Linked DNA regions of Homo sapiens: region 2 is linked to region 1. The links are contacts of gene promoters, found by promoter capture Hi-C in blood cells and fetal thymus (Javierre and others, 2016). All regions are on one chromosome and are shown on one strand. Each heading gives the region's core, a stretch centred on a gene start or on the middle of the fragment in contact. The rest is flanking DNA. Distances are from core to core; before and after follow the strand shown. Region 1 holds the start of TRDN-AS1 (TRDN antisense RNA 1). Region 2 has its middle 67 kb from the start of TRDN.

Region 1 (4,638 bases), core at 350-2,849:
TTCATGAAGCAAACATCCTGAACGTAATCCATCTAAGGAAACAAAGAAAGTGCAATACCTTTTTTTTCCACATCAATGGCAGTTTCCTTCTCACTTTTCTTTTTGATATCTTCTTTTTCTGCTGGTAAAATAAGAAAGTTATAAGCCTTTACCTGTTTAACTTGCAAATATTTCAGGGCATGCATGACTACCAGTGAGGCATCTAATTTATCTTGTATAGAGAAATCTTAAATCAGCCATAAGTCATGTCAAATATGAATAAGGTAGCACCTTCATAACAGACTAGTGGCTTAGGTATAATTTCTCTTCAGGAAACAGAACTTTTTTTTTTTTGCCAAAGGCAAAAATTATTTAATAACAGTGAAAACATTAAATGGCATTATTAATTATGGTATTATTTAACAGCTTTCCTAACATATATTGAAAAGAATATATTGAATGTTCTCTGAGCTATGAGGTCACCAGAACCATGTCAAAAGTTCTGAAATCTCTGAAGTTCACTTGGGACATCAGATAAATTATTTGAAAACAACCAATTAAAATATATATATATGTGTAAAACAAACCAATCAAGTATTTTCTGCCCTCTACATAAAATGACTTTTAAAATTAGACTGAATTAGTTAAATAGTAACCATCATATTCACATATATAGTTAAAGTAAAGTAGTGAATTAGAGAGAATTAAGCAGCTGCTCTTAAGAAAGAAAAAATAATCACAGTAGTAATTTTCAAAAAGTGTTTAGGATTGAATTCTCTTTTTAAAAATTGACAATTTTAATTTTATTTGGAATATCTAGACATGTTAAGAGTGTTCACTAATAACAATGACAATGCATTTATTAAGGGAATTTCTTTCCTAGAAAATAATAGATTTACCAGTAGTATTATGCATGGACACTAATTGATTTATGTGGTACATGGCTTTTAAATTTCCTACCTTTCTTTTTTGTTTCAGAAGTAACTTTCTTCTCAGCCTTCTTCTTTTCCCCTTCTTTTTCTAGAGAATACATTTAAAATATTTCCTTTAGGGAAATTTAGTATGAAAGCAAAACCAAGGTTGAAATGAAGGATTTTTGTTAAGTCAGTTCTGCCTCCAGCTAGCTTTGTGACTGAGCAAGTAATTTAATCCCACTAAGTCTTATTTTCCTCATTTATCAAATAATAATACCTCCCTCAAAGTTAATGTTTACAAAACACTGTGTAAAGTGCCTGGCTCACAGTAAATGTGTAACGTTGTAGACTGCTAATACTGTTTACAAATAATGAATGTGATAGTTTGAACTTTCTGAACCAAACAATTGTTTATCTAGTGCCTAAAAGTATTGATATATAAAATTAAAATATATTTCTTGGAAAATATACTGCAGATAAACTAGAAGAATTAATATTTGTTTTCTTTTATACATTTAATTTCATTAGAAATAATATATTAGACCATTAAAAAGGTATCTTTTGATGTAGCTGTTTTTCATATCTGGCTCTTGCCAACAGGCATTTAAGCCTGATGACAAGTGTCTGGCAGTGTGTTGGAAACATAACTTCCACGGTCCTTTCTGAGTGGTTGTATCAACAAAGCTGTTCAATCTTTGCACCCAGAGGTTGCAGTAAGTCTGGATGCCACATCAAACTGTTTGTGGTACTTCTAAACTTCGTGGAAGAGCCCTGTTTCATAAATCTGAGACAGCCTTGGTCTGAGGGAGCAAAGACAGAGAATTCACGTGCTGCCCAGGCATAGCCACATAGCAGGTGGACATCCCTGGACACTTTTCTGGTAAGCATAATCATTTTAGATAACAAAGTCCTGTACTAATACATAGTTGTTGAAATTGAATGTTCAGTGGTTTTAGATTTGGGACAATAATAGCTACGGTTAATGTTGTAAATGTACTGATTTTTATCTTCAATTAGCAGTGCTATTTACCTTATATTTGAAATTCCTTTCTCTTTGTCAGTTGTCTCTCATCTCAGGTACAGGTACATTCAAAGACTTCCGTTACCCAGAACTATTATAAGATCATTATTATGCTAAAGAAATTCAATATGTAGTTCTAGAATGAATCCTTAAGTTGTCTACTAATGACTGCATCTTATTAAATAGAGGAATTAACTCATTCCCATAGGTATAGAGCTTTTTTACCTACAAGATCAAAGACAACACTTTCTTTCAATGTTAGACATATAATTTATAAAGAACCCCTTTCATGATTTCTAGAGATAATCTAATGTCTCAGGGAAAAATGTATTCACACTTTGTCTAAAAGTGTCTACAGCATACTATTACAGCTCATCCAATCAGAAGTAGAAAGTCAAGAAGTCAAATTTTGATAGTTTCAGAGATAGAAATAAACCAATTGATTTCCACTTCTTCTTTTCTAAAGGTTTATGCATATTAAACATGTAGATCATATTTAAAATTCTGAATGAAGATACTTTCAAGTATCACTACTTTCAGCTTCTCTGGGAGAAATTTTATGTAGTAGTGAATTTTACATCTTCTCTAAATAAATGTATATGCCAGACAATTGAATAGCCATTTGCTAAGCATCACCTCTGATGTCATGTATCAGCAAAGGGGTTAATTAAAATACAAATGACTTGTAAATATTTCTAAGCTCAAGCTAAACACTAATGCCATACTAACCATAAGATCAGAACTCAGTATCCAAGTCTCCAAGTTTCATAAGGTTGATGAATAAATATTTCATTAAAAAGCTTGTGCCAATTAGTCAATCTTACACCGAACTTCACAAAGAAAGTAGATATTTGAACCCAGAATATGGAAGGCATTCATTTATTTTTCAATTTTCTTTTAGACAATGCTCTTGTGCAACAAATTCTACCCTTCAAATTAATATAGCTGGAATTTTATTGTGGTGATACAGTATTCTTGTCTTCGTCCAAATTGAATTAATGCTCCTATTATACACTCTGCTTGTGATTACAGTCATACACTGTGAGAGTCATGAATAAGAGCAGAAGTCCACAAAATGCAGATTAATGTCCTTTAATAACATTTTTATGAATTAGACCTTTAAGCTGTCATTATGAGACTTACTTTATTCATGCTGAATTTCATTTAAAATGTCAACTTCTCAAGATTCTACATTTCCTCAAGCACTATTGTCTCTGTTATATAGGTGATTTGGTAGCAATGGAATTAAATTTTTCACTTATAAAAACATAACAATTTGATTATATCCTACTTGGATATAAAAATAACCCATGTTTCTTTTATGAAAACTTCCTTGCCCCTGACTTTTTCTTCCTCAACAGCCAAGAGTACTCTTCCCTTTCTGTCTACCTGACTTTGAACACACATAAAAAATTTCCTCTTCCATCTCTTTCTCATTGGTTTGCCATTTTGTTTGTAACAGCTAGAGAAGAATTAGAGCATTTAAGCCCATTGATGTTCAGAAGATTAAAAATTAAATGTATCTACAGGATGTGAAAGTATCAGAATATTACCTTTCCCTGACAAAAGTATAATAAGCCCTGAAATGATGGCTGTATTCTGGCAGGGATCACAGAAGAGTGTGGTTGGGAAAGAAATCTTCCCTACAATGAGCAGCTCTGAGCCACAAATATGTTATTAGCTTCTGCATAAATTAACATCAGATGAAAGAAAAATTAAACGACTTACTTCTTACTTTCTAAGCCCTCACAATGGGCTTTTCTCTTGCTTTTAAATGTTTTTTATGCCATCTCAAAGCCAGACAATACACAATATTTAATTACAATTGCAAAGCTTTCTAAGATGCTGTTTCCACGAGGAAACAAATGCAAAATGTTTTATTTTTGTCTTATGTTTTGTTCCTCCCCTCTTTGCCCTTCTAGTGTAGAGATTATCCTAATTCTGTGTATCAGATGAGTGCTTTTATTCTAACACTGTGGCCAGAACTGATGTATTCCTGGTTCCAGTTAAGTAAATAAGAACTTGTTTCTTTAATAACAATGCATTCCAACATACCTCATCACTGTCACCTTGTTTTCTTAGAGTGGCAGAGATTGGCCTGGAACCCAGCTCACAATATGACCATGGAAAATTTTACATAAGCTGAAGATAAGTTCAATTACACGAGTGATTATTAGAGTTGTCCCATTGTTATCTACAGAGGGGTGTGGAGCACGAGAGAAAGCACAGGTGCTGGCACTGATGACCTTGGGCTGAATTCTGTCCATGACTCTTCCTAGTTGTGTGACCTTGGGCAATGTGCTATGGCACACCGAATTTCATTTTCCTCATTTGAAAAGTGGAGCTAATAAAATCTACCTCACGCTTGTAATCCCAGCACTTTGGGAGGCCGAGGCGGGCGGATCACGAGGTCAGGGGATCGAGACCATCCTGGCTAACACGGTGAAACCCCGTCTCTACTAAAAATACAAAAAAAAATTAGCCGGGCGTGATGGTGGGCGCCTGTAGTCCCAGCTACTCGGGAGGCTGAGGCAGGAGAATGGCGTGAACCCTGGAGGCGGAGCTTGCAGTGAGCCGAGATTGCGCCACTGCACTCCCGCCTGGGCCACAGAGCGAGACTCCGTCTCAAAAAAAAAAAAAAAAGAAAAAAAAAAAAAGTCTACCTTGCTTACTTGTGAGAAATGGAGATAACTGGGCTAAAATGCCTGGAACAGAGTAGATGTA
Region 2 (4,975 bases), core at 2,436-4,935, 270 kb after region 1:
GGAGTCTGGCTCTGTGCCCCAGGCTGGAGTGCAATGGCATGATCTAGGCTAACTGAAATCTCTGCTTCCCAGGTTCAAGTGATTCTCCTGCCTCAGCCTCCCCGGTAGCTGGGCCTACAGGCATGCACCACCATGCCTGGCTAATTTTTGTATTTTTAGTAGAGACAGGGTTTCACCATGTGGGACAGGCTGGTCTTGAACTCCCGACCTTAGGTGATTTACCCACCTCGGCCTCCCAAAGTGCTGGGATTACAGACCTGAGCCACCACGCCTGGCCCAAGTTTCTTTTCTGATAAGGTTTTTCTTGCCCTAGCTAAACGCAGTCACATGTCAATGTGTCTGTAAGTTACAAGCTGTTAGCTACTAAATGTTTAATGAAGAAAGAAGTATTTCCTAGTTGGAATTTGTGTTATGCAGGTCAAGTATTTGTCAAAATTTTCCTGAAATGGAACACTTATGATCTGAGTATTTCCTTGTATGTAAATTTTACCTCAAAAGAAGAAATTAGGGCAATAAAGAAATATTAAACTTTAGTTAATGATATGCATGCTGAGATGTTACATCTGTAAATAACTTTGAAATGAATCCAAAGATAAGGTGAATTGTTGGATGGACAGAGAGACAAGTGTGTGGCAAATCCAGTGTAGTAAATATTAATTTTAGTATCTTATTGGTAGAAATTTACATTCAAACTTTGTTATGCTTAAATTTTGTAAGGAAAAAAGCCCCGGCCCTATTAAGGTTGGGAGCTCAGGGGAGTTATAATAAAATGTAGCGTAATAAAATATAATATACTGGGCAGGCATGGTGGCTCATGCCTGTAATCCCAGCACTTTGGGAGGCCAAGACCAGAGGATCACTTGAGCCCAGGTGATTAAGACCAGCCTGGACAACATAGCAAGACTCTATCTCTACAAAAGATATAAATAAATAGCTGGGCATGGTGGCATGTGCTGGTAGTCCCAGCTACTCAGGAGATTGAGGCAGGAGGATCACTGGAGCCCAGAAGGTTAAACCTACAGTGAGCCACGATTGCGCCTCTACACTCCAGCCTGGGTAACAGAGACCTTGTCTCAAAAAAATAAAATTGAAAAACAGACTGAATTCAGATACCAAGTAATTAGTAGGCAAAAGAAGTTATCATAAGATTAATGCGAAACTCAGATTCCAACATGAAGTCTGGGTTTAAAGCCAATAAAGGCAAAGGCAAGAGTAGTCCACAGTCCACAGAAATACTCATTACTGTCATTACTTTTTTGGGTTTTTTTGGCTTTAGACTTTCTTAGACCTTGGCCCTGCGAGTATGTCTTTGTCAATTTTGAATGCAAGGTCTTTTAAACCCAGCATTTCATAAACATACTTGCACAGAATTTACTTAATTAACATATATTTTCTGATTGTATATAATGCATTAAGACATGCAATCATGCTTCATAATAAGCTTCCAGTTGGAAAAGACTCAATCACACTCTATCCTTAAAAGAAATCATTTCAATTGGGTAATAAGTGCTCACAATAAGCAGTTTTCCATGATTACAAAAAAAAAAGTTATGATTGGGTAAATATGCTTACTATAGCAACCTCTCTGTAGCAGTGACAAAAATTTTCTTCACTTTTTATTCATAATATACACAATTTTTAGCTTTCTACACTTTTATTTGGTTATAAGTCCTTGTCCAAATAGAGAAGGACCTGTATAACTCACAACGTGAACAATAAAGGGCAGAATAAGAATTGTGTCTAAGAATGAGCAAATCTATTCCCCTTAAGTATCTTCTAGCTATTAAAAAGCTCTAATATCTTTTGGATTTAATACAATTTTTAATACACTTGGAAGTGATTATAACATGAATTTTTCCAGGGGATAAATTCATGTTATATTCATATCATCATGCCAATTCTTTGCCTGGAATTGAGTTGATTTTCAGTCCACGTGGTTAAATGAATGACTGGTTGTCTTAGTCCATTTGTACTATAACACAATACCTGAGACGGAGTAATTCATAAATAATAGAAACTTACTTTTGCAATTCTGGACACTGAGAAGTCCAAGATTGAGGCACCAGCAGGTTCGGTGTCTATGGAGTGTCTGGTCTCTCTGCTTCCAAGATGGCCTTTTGTTGCTGAGTCCTCTAGAGGGGAGGAAAGCTGTGTCTTTACATAGCAGAAGGTAGAAGAGAAAAGGGGCTTTGCTATTTCCCTCCAGCCCTTTCATAAGGGCAGTAATCCCATACATGAGGGTTCTTCCCTCATGATTTGATCACTTCTTGAAGGCCCTACCCTTTACTTCTATGGCAATGGGGTTTAAGTTCAACCTATAAATTTTGGAGGGACACATACATTGAAATTGACATAAGTAGTAAACACAAACATTTGAAAGAAGTACTTGTGTTTCCACATAGTGGAAGCATTTGAAAGAAGGAGCAGACTCCAAATTGCGGGAGGAATAATGCTGAGATTAATAGACAAATATATTAGTTAATATAAAAAAAGAGAAGTATGTATTAACATGTCTATGGGAAGGCAGGAAGGGAGACAACTAAAACTGAGCAATGTTTAGCTTATTACTAGAACTACTGTTAAAGATTTCAAGGGGGGGTGTTCGATTTCAACATGTCAGTACAGGTTGAGCGTCCCTAATGTGAAAATCCAAAATGGTCCAAAATCCAAAAGTTTTTGAGTGCCCACATGATGCCAGAAGTGGAAAATTGCTCACATAAGCACTTAACATGAATTTTATTTCAGGCACAAAATTACTTAAAATATTACATAAAATTACCTTTAGGCTAGATGTATATGAAATGTAAACAAGTTTTGGATTTAGATTTGGGTCCTGTCCCCAAGTTATTTTATTACATATCTGCAAATATTCCAAAATCAAAAAAACTGGAATTCCAAAACAATTCTCGTTCCAAGCATTTCAGGTAAGGGATTTTCAACTTGTATCTCTTTTTTCCCCACCAAATGCTGTTACCTACTTCTTCCTCCCAACATCACATTGAAATGAACAAAGGAAATGAGCAAAGTCTTACGATAGTTATCTGCAGGAACAGCAAAAACTGGAAAGGTCTCTTCCCCAGGCCTGAAAATGTGATTAACTCCTGACAGATATGAGGCTTGTGAGCCTTGTAAGGTAAGATTGTTGTGCTGTCAGCTCATTATGCAACACAAGTAAAAAGCTACCCAGTGAAAAAGTAGGCAGGTTTCACCTAGTAAGCATCTGTGTCAGGGTCCTTCTTGAAGCAAGCTATGAGACAAAATTGGGAGACCCAAGCTAGGGGAGGGGAGCCATCAGATCACAATTTAATCTGACCCTGAGTGAAGGAGAAAGGAAAGGAAGGAAGCAGGATTCACTGAAGTTCAGAGGAAACTTCAGCAAGACCATTGGAAAGACAAAATTGCTGTCAGAAGGGACATGATTCTCCCAGGACCTGGCCTGCCTTTAAATCCCTGCCACACTCACTCATTGGTGAGAGCAGTCTATGGGAAATGTGGCATCCACTAATTAACATGTGGCAACAATGTCCGATCACAGCAACTGGGGGTCTCAGAGAATTCTGCTCCTCATGGTCCGAGACCTGAGAGGTACAGCCTCATGGCCACAGCATCCACCTCCCCTATTCTGATATAAGACACACTCCTCTATCGATCCCATGGGCCTCTCTTTCTAAGAGAAATTGCAAATAGGCAAGGCAGAGGGTGTAGGATGACCTATATAGTCCCAGTTGCTGTAGCTCATTTGGGGGTTGCCATTGTTTCTTATCTCTCCTTCTTCCACTATTTGTTTCAAATCCCCCCTCATTTGTCATTGGCTCTCACATTGGCAGGTAATGGTGCTTACATGGTGATATGACCCAAACCTTCATTTCAAAGGGCGTTAAACTCTTGACAATCACACACTTCTTAGATTAGGGTTGCTGCACATGTTTATTCACAGTTACGATGGACCAAGGGAGCAGCAAGAGGTGCCCAGTGGATCACCTGGGTTCTATACATATGCTTCCCTGACGCCACTGTGTAAGAGCAACCCTACCTCTTCCTAGGGATCAGCATCAATTTTGCATGCTGGTATGGCAACTCCTCTTCTTACCTGCTGGTCTGTGGGAACAAGGAGTCCAAAGGGCCCTGGCAGCAGCCATAACATGTACGTCAATGGTACCCTTCTAATGGCACAGCATCTCTCTAGTCAGGATCTATTGCTTCTTGCTAGATGAGGCAACAGTTTCTGATGCAATAACAAGTATTACTTTTGTAATATGTTTTTGACAACTTTTTGATTTGAATCTTAGTGCCATGAAATCACTTTGGAGTGAACTATAACTGTTTCCTCCTCCCAATGCACACTCAGATTGTTGTAAGAAGCAAACGAAATAATACATGTAAAAGAGATTAATGGAAAACTTGGAAAAAGGTGGGATCAGATAAATATTGAATCTTTATCCAAATCTTATCCAATGATAAGTGATAAGCTATACATTTTAAACACTATTTTTGAAGCATCAGTTATTAATTTAACACACAATAATGGGGGACCAGTTTGTGCCATGCATAGCACTAAGCATGGGCATGAATTAGATGGGGTTTAACACATTTGGAGCTGACCCTATGTTCTTTTGCTCCTCTTTTAAACTCAGCCCATAAAACATGTCACAGTGGCTCCTTTCTTACACAAATAACTTAAACATTACCACTTAACATTTAAACTTATTGGTACTGAAATGACAGCATTAGTTCTTTTTTCAGGGAAAATTACAAAAACAGTGCATTATCTCGTCATTTTAATATATTACTTGTAGCTTAGTAAGTAGCACCCTTTTCAACTAGTTCTTAATAGGTGTACATACGTATTGTCATTTTTTTGCCTTAAATTTGCATCTAGGTATTACTCATATTTTGATATCTAGTAAAGCAAACAGGTATTCATCTTCCTGACACTTTCTGTACAAATCTGGGGTGTTTTTACAGTATTTGGTTT

Evidence for each region. The method cuts DNA at HindIII sites, captures the fragments that hold promoters and counts their contacts. A CHiCAGO score of 5 or more calls a contact.
Region 2: a fragment that was not itself captured here is called in contact with the fragment with the promoter of TRDN-AS1 in region 1 in 1 of 17 cell types (megakaryocytes); the score reaches 6.4 in megakaryocytes.

The regions. Positions count from the first base shown.
Region 1 is chr6:123,438,005-123,442,642 of GRCh38, forward strand. TRDN-AS1 (TRDN antisense RNA 1) reads left to right here and starts at 1,600. Exons shown (of 3, transcript NR_110844.1): 1 at 1,600-1,773. TRDN (triadin) reads right to left here. Exons shown (of 41, transcript NM_006073.4): 11 at 940-999; 12 at 59-118. The HindIII fragment of the contact is 3,987 bases long and covers 1-2,712 here.
Region 2 is chr6:123,701,165-123,706,139 of GRCh38, forward strand. No RefSeq gene overlaps it. Among named protein-coding and RNA genes, the nearest start is that of TRDN, 67 kb to the left of the region's middle. The HindIII fragment of the contact is 4,492 bases long and covers 1,440-4,975 here.